2 separate regions of the Homo sapiens genome follow, and region 2 is linked to region 1. Evidence: promoter capture Hi-C in 16 types of primary human blood cells and fetal thymus (Javierre and others, 2016). All regions are on one chromosome and are shown on one strand. The core of a region is centred on a gene start or on the middle of the fragment in contact, and the rest is flanking DNA. Distances in the headings are between cores, read along the strand shown. Region 1 holds the start of VPS35 (VPS35 retromer complex component). Region 2 overlaps C16orf87 (chromosome 16 open reading frame 87).

Region 1 (3,003 bases), core at 401-2,900:
GCAAAACTATCCCTCCATGACCCCAAAGCACTGAGTTGACAATGTTAGTAAAGCAATCCACACACTGTATTACAGTTAAGTTCTACAAGCGTGTCTCCCCCAGTAGCCTCTTAAGTTCGACATTGGTACCCAGGGCCACAGTCCGTGACACTGAAGGCACACAAGATGTTTGATGAATTGAAGTGGATTCTGGAATTTTAGGGCTGGGAAGGGCCAAAGGGGCCGCCAACACTTGCTTTCGGATGCAAAAGTGCGACACCAAGAAGACTAAGCGAGCTGCCTAAATTATAGACAGTGACTGTGAAAGAACGAATACTCAAGTTTCCTTTCCCAATAAAATTCATGAGGACAAGACTGTGTGTCTGGCTGATTGCTCCCAACTGGTTCACCCAACAAAGAATCGGAGTGTGTAATACATCCTCAATTAAGTGTTTTCCATTACAAAACAATATAAATGTCAATCCATAAACGCTGGAAACACACAAATCCTAAAGTTAAATTTTGCGCCGGTCTTGTATCAATTCCCAATTATAAAAATCCTGAGAAACAGGCAAAATCACCTTGTACGGCAACACGTTATATGAAAATAGTATTTGTAAAACACTTAATCCTTTCTGGCATTAAGACATTTAAAGTGAAATCTGTTTCCAGGCTTACAGATTTACAGAAGCCTATCTACACAGAGTGAGTAAGGTAATTAAAGCGGACATACAGTATATACTCAAAAAATTTATTTACACAGTGCAGGCTATGTTAAACGCTAATAAAATGCAAGTGACAACTTGCCTTTGTGGGAACCAGACACAAAGATTCACATTTTGAGGAAGTTCAAGTTTACCGGCCAACAGCCACACCACGATTTGCTGCCGTCATAGACGGGCCCTAAGGAGAAGTACTGCTTCCAGCAAGTCAAATACTTGGATTTTATCAATGGCGAGACAAAAGAGGCAAGGTGCGCCCAATGCACAAATGCTAAAGTAAACAATCAGTCTCCTTTGCGACCGTCAGGATTAGAAGACAGCCTGAGTCCTTCCAGGAAATTCATGTAAGCAGGTCCCCAGAACTCGCTGACAAACACTGCAGCCGAAGGCGGGTATGAGGCCAAGAAAGGCCAAGGAATCACTGCGACCCCTCCAGGAGGGCGTGGGGACGGCCGAGCACAACTAGGCACAAAGGTAGAAACGCAACATCTGGGCGGGTCCCGGCGCCACCTCCGAGTCTCAGGGCCTCCACGCGCCCCGGGGGCCAGACGCTCAGACCTAGGACTACCGGTCCCCTCGTGGTAGGCAGGTGACCGATTCCACTTAAAGGAGGCCGCAGGCCTTCATGGACCCCAAAGCCTACATGCCAAGTCAACCCCACAGAGAGGCCGCCCCGTCTCTCAGCAACGGCCGCAGCCAAGAGCCGCCGCCCACCCCGGCCCGGATCAGCCTGCCCGCGGCCTTCCTCCTGCTGTCCCCTATCCCGCAGGCCAAATCGGGCTGGTCTTAATCCCGAACGGTCTGTGGGGCCCCTTCTCCACTCGCTGGAGTGCGGGGCGGTGGGAGAGAGCAGGGGCTACAAGGAGGGTCGACCCAGGTGCCACTGCCCCCTCAGCACTCACCATGGCGACTCCCCAGAGCCTGCAGCAAGCAGCACCCGCCCCGCGCGTAGCCTCCCGCGGTCATGTGACGCTGCGGCCCCTCCAAGCCCCGCCCTCTCTAGCCCCGCCCCCGGGCCCTACAGGCGGCTCATTGATTGGCCTACTTCTAGGAACCCGAGTCTCGCGTGCTTATTGGCCCTGTCACTTAACGCTAGATGGACGGACCTGAGCGCCAGCCAATCTCACCACAGCGTGCGAGAGTGGGCGGAGCAGTGCAGGGCAGTGGGGATCGCCCGGCGGCAGGCAGGAGACAACAGGAGGGAAAGGCAGTGTGTGATGAGTTTGTCAAGAAGGAATGGAAGGAGGGGGAGCCGACAAGTCCACGTTCACCGCATCTGCGTTGGCGATTGCGCTATTGATGCGCATGCGCAAAAGGAAGACCCTGATTGGTTTGTGGGACGGTCTCAACGTCCTGTCCTAACCAATCCAGATGCGCCGGGGGTGGGGCCTGGCTCTCACTGGCCGGTGCAGCCTTTGCGCGCGGGTTTCGTTGACCCGCGGCGTTCACGGGAATTGTTCGCTTTAGTGCCGGCGCCATGGGGTCGGAGCTGATCGGGCGCCTAGCCCCGCGCCTGGGCCTCGCCGAGCCCGACATGCTGAGGTGAGTTCGGCCGCGCAAGACCAGGGCTGGGCTTCCGCCTCGCGGCCCTGGGCCCTCAGGTGAGGCCCGCGCCCTTCCCAGGCGACGGGCGGCGGGGGAGTGACGGGGAGCGCTGGGGCCGGGCGGGGTTTAGGGCCTACTTCAAGAAAAACTTCTCGGCCGTGAGCTTGAATGAGATGGCAAGAAGGGCGATAGCAAACGGCGATGGCACACGTCCCTGGGAACAGCCAGCCCTGTCCGTGGGTAGAAAAATGAGCCAGGGAGAACTTTCCGTTCATTCCGCCAACGCCTACTGCAGTCGGGTTTATAGCGGGGAACCCGACAACGAGGCGCAGACCCCGCTGTCTGTAAGGGCGAGGACTGTGTAGACCTTAACCGGGCAATGCTCCTGAGCCACTGGGCTTGGGGTGGAGCGCGGCCTAGCGGCTGCCTTTAACACAAAGAAACAAACAAAACTCGGAAAAGCAGGCGCCGTTCCCGCTGAGGCCGGATTGATGGCAGATGCTAGGCGAGGAAAGATATGGCAAGAGCAGCCCAGGCAGGGGCGACAGCTCCTGTAAAAGCGTTGAGATGGGAAGCGGGATCCGGGGTTCGAAATAAAGCCATTGTAGCTAAAACGTGGAGCAGTCAGGCGAGGGAAGGCAAGGAAAACAGCACTTAAAAGATTTGAAGACAAACCTGCAGGACTCGGTAGTCATTTAGAACAGTGGTTCTCAAAATGTGGTTCCTGGACCAGCAACAGCCATATCATCTTGTCACT
Region 2 (3,076 bases), core at 52-2,551, 120 kb after region 1:
AAAAGCACTTGAGTATCTAAGACAGAACGTCTGAAAAGCAAAGCATAACTCACAAATAGTGTAAGAAATTAAAAATGCATTTCAGTGAAGATGAAATCATTTTGACAGAGGTTTTTAAAGAACAATAAAGAGCAACTATCCCTTTTTTAAATTAACTACCAGCTTGAAAGTCTCAATTTTAAAAAGGTATTTGTGGACATAGAGAGGTTCATTATACTATTTTCTCTACTCTTGCATATGTTGAAATTTTCTGTAAGTTTTTAAAAAGATGCATAAATCAAAGAAAAAGAGAAACTGAAGTTTTAATGTCTAAAAACAAGCTATTGGTAGATATTCGTCAGAAGAAAGAAGACCTGTAAGGAGAAAAAGAAATATACTCTGGACCAAGAAGAATTCATCTATGCAAAAGCTGCCTCAGAGTAGGAAGCACACAAATCTCCCAATGAGCAATTAAAAACTCCACCAACAACACTTTCAATAGTAAAATTTTAAAACTCACAGTATAATAGTTTGAAGTAGTCTTAACAGAACTCAGACATGTCTTTAAAAGACAAAAAAAAAAAAAAAAAAAAGAGGTCCCAACACTTTGGGAGGCCAAGGAGGGCAGATTGCTTGAGCCCAGAAGTTCAAGACTAGCCTGGGCAACATGGTGAAACCCCCCTCTACAAAAAATTAGCTAGGCATGATGGTGCACACCTGTAGTCCCAGCTACTCAGGAGGCTCAGGGGAGAATCACCGGAGCCCTGGAGTTTAAGGCTGCAGTGAGCCATGACCGCGCCACTGCACTCCAGCCTGGGTGACAGAACAACACGCTGTCTCAAAAAAAAAAAAAAGTACAATCATTTTAACAGGCTTCTTCAGGATGTCATATACAAATTATCTTTGAACTCTATTATCATCAGTTTATAGCAAGGTAAATTTTACCTAACTAAGCCTTCAGGTTTCCAATAAGAATTAAATTCCTGTGATTAAAAAAATAATAAGCATCTACCACAGAGGAAATGCTTTCAAACTAAAATATGAGTTGTGATTTTTAAGTCCAGGAGCTCAATGCCTCCACTTTCTTCACTACTACCTAATTAAGATCCCAGATCAATTTAATACTTGAAAAAAAAACTGCTTGATTTGTTCATACCTCTTTCTTCCTCATGTTTTTTGGCAGATGCACTTTTAGGTCTTCCTCTTCCTCGTCTGATATGATCTGAATGGCTGTTACTTCGAGACCTCTTTCTGTTTTCTAAATCTTTATTTACTGTAGAATTTATCTTCTCTCTCCTAACTCTCTCTGTTCGCCTCCTCTTGGCCTCATGCTTGTTTTCTGTATGGATGAATAAAAGTGATATATTTTAGGGCTTAGCAAGAACTGTTTGCCCAAGTTCTCATTGTCTTCCTTTTTCTTTCTAAATAGCACTAGAGTATGCTTCCTGGCATATTTCATAGAACTACAACCATAACATATATGTCTCCCCCACACCCTCATAAGAAAAAAAGAAATTCAATAGAATTCAGATCACAATAACACATGAAGTAGGAGGAATCTTGGAAGAGAAAACAAGTTTCTTCATTTGGCAGCTTAAATTTCAGCCTCTACAAGTTCACACAATTCCATAGCAACCTTTCTGCCTTTTTCTTCCTGTTTCCAAGCTAAAAATAGTGAAATATTAAGAAAGGAAAAAAACTGCATGCCCTTTTGCCCTCTACCTGAGTTAAAGATTAAAATATGTGAAATATGCAAAAGCAAAACTGATCTTAGAGATAACGTATTAAGGTTACAATAAAAATCAAACAGAAAGCATCCATAACAAATATAAAAACCCTAGGCAAGTGAGTAATTTTCACTTTAGCCACAGATAAGGTAATTTCTGATATAAGAGCATGTTGTTCCATAAATGGAATAGCAATAGGGAAACTTTACTAAATATGGTGATTTAATTAGTGCAAGAAGCCACCCCTCCCACTCTAAACAAATCAAAATGTTGGATAAGACAAACAATAAACTTAAAGAAAAAAACAAAACAAAAACAAAAAAGATGATACCTTGCTTTAACACATACCTGCACTCAAAAGCAAGAAAGAGAATTCCCCAAATGCCAAAAATCTCAGTGGTAAAGGGGCAAAACAAACAGAAAAATTCATATCCAAAGAACTAAAGGGAACAATGTGAAAGACTATAAAATAAGTATGCTTAATAGACTGCTGTAAAAAAATTAAAAGTAAAATAGTAATATTATCCCCAAACACCATATCCTTGGAGAATTAATCTGAAGTTTCAAATTAGACATATACCAGATAATACAAGAATATTTAATTATCCCAGATTGCAAGAAAGTTATCAAAGACAAGCAGGGTGTTGTTAAGACTTGGGCTAACATGAAGAGGCTCCCACTATTACAGGACAATTTGAGCATCAATAAAAATAGTAACTGTAACAGATTGAAATATATCAAGCATATGAGTACATTAACATTAAAAACAAAAACTACTTGGCCACCATACGAAGATACTAAAGAACCAACTCATTACTTTGAAAACTTAAATATAGGGCAAGAACAAAGCATTTCTTCTGCTTTTTCTATTTAAACTGTGCTACTCACGGGGTAACCAAAGGGCAAATGAAGAGGTTTCTCATATTAAAGCTAATAAATGAAGAAGGAATGACAGAATCAGAGTATCAACATTTTTCAACCTGCAATGAACTAAAGGTTCTAAGCACTAAACATCAGCAGGTACTAACATCACTAAAAGAGAGAAGCAGGCCAGGCGCGGTGGCTCACACCCATAATCCTAGCACTTTGGGTAGCCAAGGCGGGTGGATCACCTGAGGTCAGGAGTTCGAGACCAGCCTGACCAACATGGCAAAACCCCGTCTCTACTAAAAATACAAAATTAGCTGGGTGTGGTGGCACGTGTCTGTAATCCCAGCTACTTGGGAGGCTGAGACAGGAGAATCGTTAGAACCTAGGAGGCAGAGGTTGTGGTGAGCTGAGATAGCACCATTGTATTACAGCATGAGCAACAAAAATGAACTCCATCTCAAAAAAAAAAAAAAAGAGAGAGAGAAGCAGACTTTAAGCAC

What was found. Contacts are between HindIII fragments. The CHiCAGO score rates a contact against its expected background, and 5 or more counts as called.
Region 2: a contact is called between a fragment that was not itself captured here and the fragment with the promoter of VPS35 in region 1, in 14 of 17 cell types (megakaryocytes, M1 macrophages, M2 macrophages and 11 more). The highest score is 14.5, in megakaryocytes.

Annotation. Positions count from the first base shown.
Region 1 is chr16:46,687,528-46,690,530 of GRCh38, forward strand. VPS35 (VPS35 retromer complex component) reads right to left here and starts at 1,651. Exons shown (of 17, transcript NM_018206.6): 1 at 1,604-1,651. The coding sequence starts at 1,606. ORC6 (origin recognition complex subunit 6) reads left to right here and starts at 2,132. Exons shown (of 7, transcript NM_014321.4): 1 at 2,132-2,243. The coding sequence starts at 2,179. RefSeq lists enhancers at 1,122-1,819, 1,820-2,518, 2,756-2,835, 2,886-2,955 and silencers at 1,356-1,405, 1,556-1,795, 2,116-2,415. The HindIII fragment of the contact is 9,040 bases long and covers 1-3,003 here.
Region 2 is chr16:46,808,468-46,811,543 of GRCh38, forward strand. C16orf87 (chromosome 16 open reading frame 87) reads right to left here. Exons shown (of 4, transcript NM_001001436.4): 3 at 1,136-1,318. Among named protein-coding and RNA genes, the nearest start is that of C16orf87, 21 kb to the right of the region's middle. The HindIII fragment of the contact is 5,700 bases long and covers 1-3,076 here.